Linked DNA regions of Homo sapiens: all the other regions are linked to region 2. Evidence: promoter capture Hi-C in 16 types of primary human blood cells and fetal thymus (Javierre and others, 2016). All regions are on one chromosome and are shown on one strand. Each heading gives the region's core, a stretch centred on a gene start or on the middle of the fragment in contact. The rest is flanking DNA. Distances are from core to core; before and after follow the strand shown.

Region 1 (3,419 bases), core at 104-2,603, 710 kb after region 2:
ACCTGCCTCGGTCTCCCAAAGTGGTGGGATTACAGGCGTGAGCCACCATGCCTGGGCTGGCCTGTTGTATCTTATGCTCATCGCAGCCTTCCCCCTGCCCTGGTCCTCAGGCATCCCTGCAGGCTTTTGCTCAGCTAGCTGCTGAGTCATGTGGTCTGTGAAGACTGGAGAGCTGCAGGAGAAAAGAAGCCCTGAGAGTCCTCACCTTCTCTTTCTGCTTTGGCAGCATCACCAGCTGTGGCTGGGTCTTTTTTCTGGACTCCAGCTCCTGTCGAGAGACCCCTGTTATGATTTTGGCTCCCCCGGACAGCCCTGGCTCCTGGGCTTTGGTGACATCACCTCTTTCCTTTGACCCTCAGGCCTCATTCCTGGCTTGCTGCTGGTGCTGATCTTTGGATTGCCTTACCATTGCCCTTGTCATTTCACCTCTTTCTCCACCTTTGCAACAACTCCCCTGTATTAAATTTCCCCTTCAGCTCTTTTGTTAATGGGGCCCTGGCAGATTTAGCCTGAAATGCTGCTCTGAGGAGTCTGGGTTTCATGCTTTCTGGTAGTTGATTTGACATCAGGAGAGGCTTTTGAGAAGGACGTGATATGATCAAATGGAGCAAATGGGTGTTTGATATTGGGGGTTTCATGGATGCCCTAGAAAATTTGTAAATAGCCTTTAAGTGTCTATGAGCATGCCACAGTTGTCTGAAATTTTATGCATATGTGCAGAAGTGACTTTTTTGTGTGTGTGGGAAGAGATCCTATAGCTTTCATCAGATTCTCTGTGGGATTTTAGAATATCCTAAGAACTACTGGACTAGAAGTAGGATCAGTTAGCAATGCAAATCACTCAATGCATCAGAGTCCCAGCAGGAAACAGAACTCACTGGAGATGGTTCTGCTGGAGACTTTAAAGAAGGGGCTACTTCAGAAGTGTGGGCAGAGGTAGGTGGACAAACAAGAGATGGGAGGCACCCCAAGTTTAGCACCAGTGGGGAGCTGGTATCCCCAAGGATGAAGGGCCAAGGGGAGGAAACTGAGGGACTGGGGCCCATGATAGTTGGAGCCCTGGAGGAAGAGCCTCTCGGTGGAAGCAGGAGTGCTGGAGGGACACAGTCTTCTTCTGAGATGGGGAGTCCAAGCAGGGGACAAGGACACAGTGTAGCTTCTCTCTTCCCACTTGACTGGCCATTAGTGCCTCCCCTCGTCTCTAATACAGTTGGAAGCCAGCAGCCAAGGGTGTTTGGGTGATGTGGTCTGTGGGGTCAAAGTGGGGGAGAGAATGCAGTAAATGGGTAGATTCGGACAGAGCAGGGTAGACGGAGAAAAACCAACATTCACAGAAAATACGTTACTTAGGACTTCCAGCATTGTGCAAGAAGGAAATTGACAGAAGTCATGTTTGGTAGTTGCCGGCATCATTCCTCACGTTCTGACTTCTGGATTCTGCTTTTCATCAGTCCCTTCTGCACTAACTTGCCCAGCCTAGTAAAGTCATATAAAGAGAAGCAAAATTCAGAGGATTCTTTTGTTGTTGTTGTTAACCTTTTCCTTCCACTGCTACTTACAAGCTCTCTGACGTTGGAAGTCACAAAAATGTCTCTGAGCCTCATTCATCAAGTATGGAAGAGGTTGGGTTTGATGTTTTGCATTGTGCCTTCTGGCTTGAAGGTTTTATGATGCTTTAAGAGGGTCTTTGGCTTCCTCCTTATGAAAGGCATGTAGTGCTCTGGCCCCTTCTAAAGGGGTGAGCCGCCTTCCCTTGCCCGTTGTCGCCTGCAATGGTTTGAAGGCTGGAAGAGAGCACAACAGCAGTACCCCAGTCCTCCAAGGAACAGACCGCAGCAGGTTATTAGCATTTTATCGACTTTGGCTCTGCTGTTGATTGTCAGGATCTGTAGTGAAATACTTTAATATACATTTGAGTCTAAGTGTTACCCAGGCCGAAGGAGCACTAATTTTGAAGATATGTTTGCATTATAGCCTGTGTTCTAGAGAGACCCAATATAAAGAAACACACCCAGCAACTCTGCTTACTCGGCTGGTGGAGGGAATTGAGGATTGTTGCTGAAGGGAACTCACTTTTGTATGCATTTCAGAGATTTAATTTTATTAGCCAATGCAAATGATCTGTTCCACAAATGTAAAACAAAAGGACAAGAAAATGATCCCTGTGTCAACATCAGGATGTCTGACTTAAAATCCCATTCGAATAACTCCCTAAAAATGATCAGACACTGAATACATTATTTTTCTGACTTTGACAAAACTAGTCTGCACAAAGAAGCAGCCCCATGAGGTTACGGATAAACCAACCACCTTAAAACTTCAGCATTTTCATGTCAGTCACAGATTTTCTTAAGGGCCAACTCACTGTTTAAGGACTAATGTGTTTGGAGAGGGAAAAAAACCACACTGTGTTATTAAGCAGAATCCCCTTTACATACAGGGATCGGATCAGTTTGCCCGGATTGTGTTGCCTGCTTTATTGTCCTACTTCAAACACGGGGCCCTGGGCATCATCTCGAGGAAGGGCTGATTGAACTGTCGGCCTGACACTTGTCAGCTGTGGATAATACGGGCTTCAGTCCGTCATGCTCACACATAAATGAACCATGACAGAGATAGACTGTTGAATAGAAAAAGCAGTTTTACTGTGGATAACCTTTCTTGAATAAATGCAACAAATAATAAAGTCTGAAAAGGGGGAACATGTACCTTAGGAAAGCAGTGACGTTCAGAACCAAACGGTTATTATCTTTTTGGGCCATCAAAAATTGCCCATTTATCCAAGTACATTATTGAGAGAAAAGCTAAAAGTGCTATGATTATCATAAAAATGATGGCAGTTGAATCTATGCAGTCTTCAATATTATATCACATAACAAAACCTAGTTACAGCTCACCAGGATTGAAAAAGGAGGCATTGTTTGTGTACCAAATGGAATCCACAATTGTTCTTAGAAAATGGTGGCACACATCTTAATTAAAAGAGCAGAAAAAGAATCTAAAGCTCTTCTTTATGTCTTTAAAACACTTCTCCTTTTTTATTAAAAGAAGAAAAAAACAGAACTCCCAGTAGAAATTGTGGAAACTCTACATTTCAATCAAGACAGTCAAAAGAATGATTTGAATTTACAGGCCTGTAATTGGAACAAATTGGAAACAAAAGAAGAGCTCGTTTAAGCCACGTGATGTGGCCACAGTGCTGCCGTGTACAGTATGTTAGAAAAAAAAATCATGTTTCTTTAAAGCAAAGCTAACTCCACTGCAGGCTCTGAGCAATTTGCATAAATGTCTCTACCATGATTTTTTTTTTATTTATGGGCCCTAAGTTTCTAATTAAATACTAATTAATACTATCACCAGAATTGTCTCCCATCCCCAGCTCTTCATAGCTTTGTCACTTTGATTAATGCACAGTCATT
Region 2 (3,475 bases), core at 786-3,285:
CAAAGGCAGGAGGATCACTTCAGCCCAGGAGTTCAAGACCAGAATGGGAAACATAGGGAGACCCCATCTCTACGAAAAATTTAAAAATTAGCTAGGTGTGTGGGCACATGTCTGTGGTCCCAGCTACTTAGGAGGATGAGATGGGAGGATCATTTGAGCCTGGAAAGTCGAGGCTGCAGTGAGCTGTAACTGCACCACTGCATTCCAGCCTGGGTGACAGAGCAAGACCCTGCCTCAAAAAAAAAATATTTTTTTAATTTTTAAATACTTTATTTGTCTTAAACGTATAAGCAATCCTCACTTGGCACAGTCTGATATGAATTTCAGTTACCACAGTTTATTAACCGTGAGAAATAGCATAAAAGTTTGCTACTAGCTTTTCAGTTCACAAATCATTACATAAATAACATATGAATCAAAATTGACCAATTTGCAATTTTACTTCTTTCAAAGTCTATGGGTGATTGGTCACTGTGCATCTGTTATTCAGTTCACACACAGGCTGCAAAGCATGGAGGTTTGTTATTAATATTTCTGTGCCCTTGAGATAAACCCACATGGAATTTTACAGATTAAAAGAGGAAATTGGCCAAAAGAATGAAAGTGCACTAAAGAAGAGTGATAATACTAGAAGTGAAACTTGCATTAAACATAAATGGAGCAAATGAAAAAAAAGCTGCCTGTGGGAACATGCTGATTGTGGCAACAATGACACTGCCGCCATTTGAGACATTCTAGATATGCAGACTGAGGAAATCAGTGAAGGTGAACTTATAGACATAAATGAGGAAAAGTGATTGTGATGAAAGGCTGATGATGTGTCAGAGGAAGTGACACTGGCAAAAAAAACACATTAAAGGAACTCTCAGAGATATTTCACAACATTGAAAACGTAATGGATAAAATGTTGGAAACTAATATTTAAATTTCTCCAGAACGCAGAACTCATAAGCAACTGTGTTCTCCAAGTAAATATCTTCACAGGTTCCTCAATTAATGTGGGCAAAATTAAAAGTACAACTTGCTTCTTCCCTTTGGAAAACCCTCTCTCAGAGTATATTACCAACATTCAACTTCTTATACAAGGCATAGATCTGGGAATCATTATTCATTCTTCTCTTTTTGTCATTCACGTATCCACTCAATTTCCATGGCCTGTTGATTCTATTTCTCAGACGTTGTTCAAATCTCTCCACTATCTTTATTCTACTTGGCAACTCTGTGGCCCAGGCTTCCAACAACTCTCTCCCGGACAAGTGTAATCACAACAGTTACCTAACTTGGCTCCCACTCTTGTTCTCAGTTGCAACCCATTCTCCAAGCAGAAAACAAAATGCAATAGCTGTTACCTTATTCTCATCTTCACACCTCTACTCAAGTACACAAGGCTCTTCCTCATCTAGTTTCTGTCTACTTCATCTCTTGTCAATGGTCCCTACCCCAATTCTCCGCTCTAGTCATTCTGAACTTTGTTCAATTCCTGGCCTGTGTCCTCTGCCTTTAATAGGCTGCCTGGCACACTGTAGGAATTCACTAAATATGCAGACTGAATGAATGAACGAGTCCGTGGAGGGCAGTTATTCTTTGGAGTAACTTAAGAGAGAAGGAATACAGTACAACGAAGTATTCTTATTTAGGTTTATAGTGTCTTCACCTGAGCCCGCGGGGGAACCCCCCCCCCACCCCCGGGGAACCCCCCCCACCCCCGCCGCCCCCCGCCTGCAAGTTGTTACCAGTAAATAAAAGGGATCCTATTTTAGCAAGCCACACAGCATTAGAGGGCAAATAATAGTTTGGTGGCAGGAGAGCGATGAGACGGGAAAGTGTGGGGCAAAGCTTACAGTCATTGGTCCAGATTCTAACTGGCCTGTTAGCCAAAAAGTAAGGTTTTCTTTACCTCCGTGTTGACTCTGCTCTCCGAAGGCGAAGAGGGTCCTCCAAACCCGTTTGGCGTGCGGACAAAAACCCCAGCATATCGTGTCCTCACACCGGCTGGAGCACTGGACGTCGCCATGACAGAGCTCAGGGGCGGGACTGGAACAGCAGAGTCTCCCATTGGTCAGTCGGTGATATATCCGGCCAATGGTGAGCGCCGTTACTAGAAGGGCTCCAGGATGGAGGCCGACCTGACTTCTCCGCCTCGGTGGGCTGGGTCGGCGGCTGGAGCATTACCCCTACTGCGGGTCCCGCTGCTGGCAGCGCTGGAAACTGGGTGGACGGCATGGGTTGGTCTCAGGATTTGTTCCGCGCCTTGTGGAGATCGCTGTCAAGGGAAGTGAAGGAGCACGTGGGCACGGACCAATTCGGGAACAAATACTACTACATCCCGCAGTACAAGAACTGGAGAGGTGAGGTGGCGGCGTGGGCAGCGATTGCGTGGTCAGTGATTGCGAGGTCAGTAAAGGAGGGAAAAGTGAGAGCCCCTAGTCAACTAACGCATCATGCGACACTTAGGGTGTCACCGGAGAGAATTTCCCGAGTTCGTTCTCCCCTGTCGACCCCTTCACTCTGGCATCGGAGCCCTACCCGGCCCGGCTCTGGGCGCCTTGGCCCGGCCTCGTGCGTCCGCGGTCCCTACTACCCAGCGCCTTCCCCCGGCGTGCCCCGGGCTGCTTGCGCTGTTAAGGCGCACCACCACTTTCCTCCCAGCCACGCCTGTAGAGGAGCCTCAGTTTTAGCCCTGGACTGGCGACGGAGGCAGGGAAAAGTCCACGGAAATCTTTCACCAAAGGGGCTAGAAGGGCCAGGGGAGGGGTTTTTCGTACGCTGTTCCCCGCCTTGTGACCCAGAGCTGAGTGGTGTAATTGAAGAGGAGTATCTTCAGCGCCTCGGCTGTCTTCTTTCTTGGTGTTTACCCTTTTCGGTGGCACCCTGGCTCCGGCGCTGGCCCCATGCGCCTTCCTTACTACCAAGACTTGTCAGAAGTAGGTCCATATCCCCACAAGGCTCGCTGATTCCTTTCTCGGGAGTTGACATTCCAAGACCCCGTTGAGCTCAATTTAAGAAACGTGGCAATAATCATGGTGTTACTGTGTAGGATTCGTGCCAAGTAGTTGAGCGGGTTGTTTGGGGAGTAAGGAGGCGTTGCTGTCCATTGAAATCACACTGTGTAGCCGCCGTCGTAACCTCTTCTGTGTTGTTCCATCGCCGCATGCAGAAAATGTCAGGTTTTGGGCGAAGAGGCGTGGGTTAGAATCTCAGCTTTGACACCTGATAGCTCGGGAATCACGGAAAAAGTACTTGTCCTCTCCAAGTCTCAACATCCTCACTTGAAAGTTAGAGATAATATAAGATCAGCAATGTTGAGAAGCACTAAGACCTTTCCAAGATTATGTGCCATTCATTTCCCACACATATAAAATGTATTCTGTGATTTATCACTCAATTAATTTATTTTTGCCTGGCCTTTTTCTGTAACTTATTTTAATATTTAGACTTGTTTCCCTAATGAGCTCCTCTGTCAGGCAGGGAATAT
Region 3 (3,727 bases), core at 239-2,738, 590 kb after region 2:
AAAGCTAAAGAAACTATGTATTTATGCTTCCTGTATTGTTGTGGAGGTGATTTGCTTGTTGGCTTGTTTTGCTTCTGTTTAAAGTAAGGGAAGGGTTATCCTTGCTGCTATCAGACTCAAGCACACCGTGGCTTTTTCCTACTTTTTCGTGAAGCACAATTCAAGCCAAGTTTAATCATAAAACAGCAACAGTTGAAACCTTCATAAATGATTAATTGTTTTGAAAAAATTGATTTTTGAAGCAGTAGTAAATAGTAAATATACTGGCTTGAATATAATTGAGGGAGACCTTCACACCTGCTGTAATTCCGCATTCCATCAGTAGTGCAGGAAAGCAACTCCCTGTATTGCCAAGGCACATCTGTATTCACTGGAGGCTGAGAGAAGGTGGGACGTGCATTTAGCAGTGAAGGAGTCGCTATTCGGGGTCCTTCAGGCTCTGCCTGCCTCTCTTCTGACTGCTTCCATCTCCTCATCGGTCTCTCCTTTTCAGCAATAACAGTTAGAATATGTTGTTCTCTACCACCCACCTTTTTATTTCTACCTTCTTTTAAAAGTTATTTCACATAATAATTATTTTTATCACAGATTTGTTCAAGGTGAATATTTTAATGAGTTCAAGATTATATTTTAATCTTACAAATAACCTTTAAATTTTAAGGACCTAAAAGGTACATCCATCTTTCTTAAAACATCAGCATTTTCTTTTTCCTTTAAAAAAATTAATAAAACACTCCTGTGCTTCTAATGGAAAGTACAGATCACCTAAGGACAAGCCATGTTGTAGACCTAAAAGCTTGTGTGTGCTGATTAACAGTTTGATCTCAAGAAGCTTTTCATCAAAGATTCTATGTCTGTAATCAGAGAAGTAGATTCTAAAACAAATCCTTGCCTATAAATTACCAGTGTCCCCAAAGTTACCCTGTTCTGAAAGTATTGAGTGTAGCTTATGTGTATAAGGACACCTCTTTTTTATGCAGTGATAAGGATGTGTGTATGTGTCTGTGTGTATACCTATGTGTCAGTGTGTTTTAAGGCTGACATCCTGTAATTTGACATGCTTTCCTTGGCAATATGGAATCTTACTAACCTGCTGGAGAATCTTCTTAAGTATTCTTTTTTCTATTTTTAAAATACCAGAAAATAAGTCAATAACAAACATCAGCAAAAGTCCCCCACCAAATTACATTATACCACTTGGTTTATGTTTTAGAGCACGATTTTAAAATAAGTGGGTTCCTATTTTTATTTTTGGAAGCTGAAATGGAAGCTGTCTTATGAAGACATATGCTCAACTCTATACTTACTCAAATCTTAGGAATTCTAATCTTGTTTTAAAGGGAAGATGTTAATGTTATGGTGCCACCAGATGCTGTTGCTACTACCACTGGCAAAGTTTAAGGGTAAAATAGCATAAAGTTTCTGTGTGGTTCTGGCTTATGTAATGGTATGTGCCAGGCAGAAAGGCTTGCTTTTCTAACACTCACAAACTCATTTATATTTGTCCTTGGTTGCTGCCAAGGCAGTTTCTTAATGGGGAATACTAGCAGGGTACAGGGGAATTTTTTTTCCACTTTCTCTCTTCTATCTGCCACTACTATCCTGCCAAAGGTCTGCCATGGAAGGCAGGTATGTGCCCCACCAGGTATTGCAAGGCAGCCCAGGGAACAGGAAGGAAAAGAGAGATGTAGCTCGCATGCTTCTTAGTCCTTCTGGAAGAGGAAGGCTAAGGAAGGTCATCTTCAGCACTCATTTTCTCATCTTCCCAGGGATGTTGATTAGTTTCTTCTACAGTAAGTCTGGCAAGACCTGCCTGTGAATACGAGGATATTCTGAGTTAAAAAAAAAAAAGCTAAATAGCAACCCTGCCATTATTCTTACTACTTAACTGCCTACCTTGCCACCTTCTCTACTGCTGACATCTTTTTGTTCCTAAATAAAAGGAGAAGAGAATGAGCCATTTGGCTTACCAGGCAATAATTGCTCTTGGGTGGGGCCTTGAGGCCAGCATCACTCCCAGACCCAGCTGACTCTTCTTGGTCTCCAGCTCTTATCTTATTTCATAGTTCTTAACACTGGTGTACTTGACTGAAGGCCGGCATTTTGATGGTTGTAAATAAATTATTTCAGCTTTAGGTACTCTACTAAGCTTTTTGGTACTTTTAGAAGAGATTACTAAATATTTGCTTTGCTTTTAGAAATTTTTTCATCAGCATATTCTTTTTTTATTTGTTTTGAGACAGGGTTTTGCTCTGTTGCCCTGGCTGGAGTGCGGTGTGGTGTAATCATGGCTCCCAGGCTCAGCTGATCCTCCCATCTCAGCCTTCCAAGTAGCTGGGATTACAGGCACATGCCACCACACCCAACTGATTTATATTTTGTAGAAACAGGGTTTCGCCATGACAGTATATTCTTAATAAAAAATCAGAAATCACTCTGAATTTATGCAAAACTGTCAAGGGACAGACACTTAGGTCACATTTATCTTCTGTAATATGGTTGGTAGAACATAGTCTAATGTCAAATTCCTGGAGTCATAAGAAACTAATTGTTCAGAAAGTATGAATGGATGGAAAAGAGGTAATTTTTGTCTTACTTCCCTTCTTGTTTTATGTTTAAATAGGTTAAGCTTATTCATCTTAAGTACTCACTGCTTCCTGACTGTGATCTCAGTCTTAAATATCCATTTCACTATCAGTTTCTGTTGATTTATTTTTTGAGTCATAGAATTCAAAATTTGTAGGTAAACATCAAGACCTGTGTTTAAAAGTTCTTCGGTGTTTGCGTATCTTAATTTATTTGAATATTGTAATTTTCTGAATGGTGCTAAAGAAAGAAAATCTCTTAGGTTTGGGTGATGAACAACTAACAAGGTTTGGGTGATGAACAGTTATTATTAGCAAACAATTAGTAGTCCAAAAAATCTAGGTATTTTGCACCCACACAGCAGAGTATAGCTGTACCAGCCCTTGCTGAACTTGAGTAGAGGCCTGAACATCTACCCACTCCTCTGGCTTCTGTTGGCCAGTCTTTCTGGCCAAGGACATGGTCAAGAAATAACTAGGGGCCACCTTCCTTGTCTTCTCATTATAGGTTACTAGTATTGGAATCTACTGCTCCATCAGGAGACCTCACCCGCCCACACCACATTGCATCAGTTGTTCCCAACCGCTACCCTCGCTGGTTCACTCTAAGCCACATTGAGTCCCAGCAGTGTGAGCTGGCATCCACCATGCTAACTGCAGCCAAAGGTACTGTACTGTCCTGAGGCCTCATAATTGTTTCATTCGTTTGCCTGTTTATTTTTTTTAAGTCTTGTTTTCTATCAAATTCTCAGCAGTGGTGTTAATGTCAGATAGGTTGAAGGGATCTTTTTCTTTAGATGTTAGCTTTTAAGGCAAAACAGGTGGCATTTTCCTCATTTACCTGCATCATTAACTTGCTGCCAGCAGAGTTCAGGTTAGTTACCATGCTAAGAAAATATAAATGGTTGAAATTCAGAAGCAGATTTACAAGTTGGGTTACATTTTTTTCTTCCTGAAATATTCACCAAAAATACATAAGTAGGAACTAGGAGAGCTGTTGCTGTCTCATGTTGGTCCTGGTTCATATGTGCTTTGAGTCATTGAGGGTGTGTCTCAGTGTATCTTTTTTTGTGAAGCCGAGATTCACAGACATTGCAGTAATTATGGGAGCCCTAGTTGTAACACCTGTGCCATCTGTGAAC

The links. The method cuts DNA at HindIII sites, captures the fragments that hold promoters and counts their contacts. A CHiCAGO score of 5 or more calls a contact.
Region 1: a contact is called between a fragment that was not itself captured here and the fragment with the promoter of ERCC8 in region 2, in 10 of 17 cell types (naive CD4 T cells, total CD4 T cells, activated CD4 T cells and 7 more). The highest score is 13.2, in naive CD4 T cells.
Region 3: a fragment that was not itself captured here is called in contact with the fragment with the promoter of ERCC8 in region 2 in 1 of 17 cell types (activated CD4 T cells); the score reaches 5.1 in activated CD4 T cells.

Annotation. Positions count from the first base shown.
Region 1 is chr5:61,654,690-61,658,108 of GRCh38, forward strand. All of the region lies in intron 1 of LINC03122 (long intergenic non-protein coding RNA 3122), which reads left to right. Among named protein-coding and RNA genes, the nearest start is that of LINC03122, 19 kb to the left of the region's middle. The HindIII fragment of the contact is 4,377 bases long and covers 1-3,419 here.
Region 2 is chr5:60,943,035-60,946,509 of GRCh38, forward strand. It overlaps ERCC8 (ERCC excision repair 8, CSA ubiquitin ligase complex subunit), which reads right to left and starts at 2,036. Exons shown (of 12, transcript NM_000082.4): 1 at 1,898-2,036. The coding sequence starts at 1,974. It overlaps NDUFAF2 (NADH:ubiquinone oxidoreductase complex assembly factor 2), which reads left to right and starts at 2,171. Exons shown (of 4, transcript NM_174889.5): 1 at 2,171-2,348. The coding sequence starts at 2,222. RefSeq lists an enhancer at 2,807-2,936. The HindIII fragment of the contact is 6,619 bases long and covers 1,835-3,475 here.
Region 3 is chr5:61,535,721-61,539,447 of GRCh38, forward strand. ZSWIM6 (zinc finger SWIM-type containing 6) reads left to right here. Exons shown (of 14, transcript NM_020928.2): 11 at 3,094-3,251. Among named protein-coding and RNA genes, the nearest start is that of LINC03122, 100 kb to the right of the region's middle. The HindIII fragment of the contact is 1,317 bases long and covers 831-2,147 here.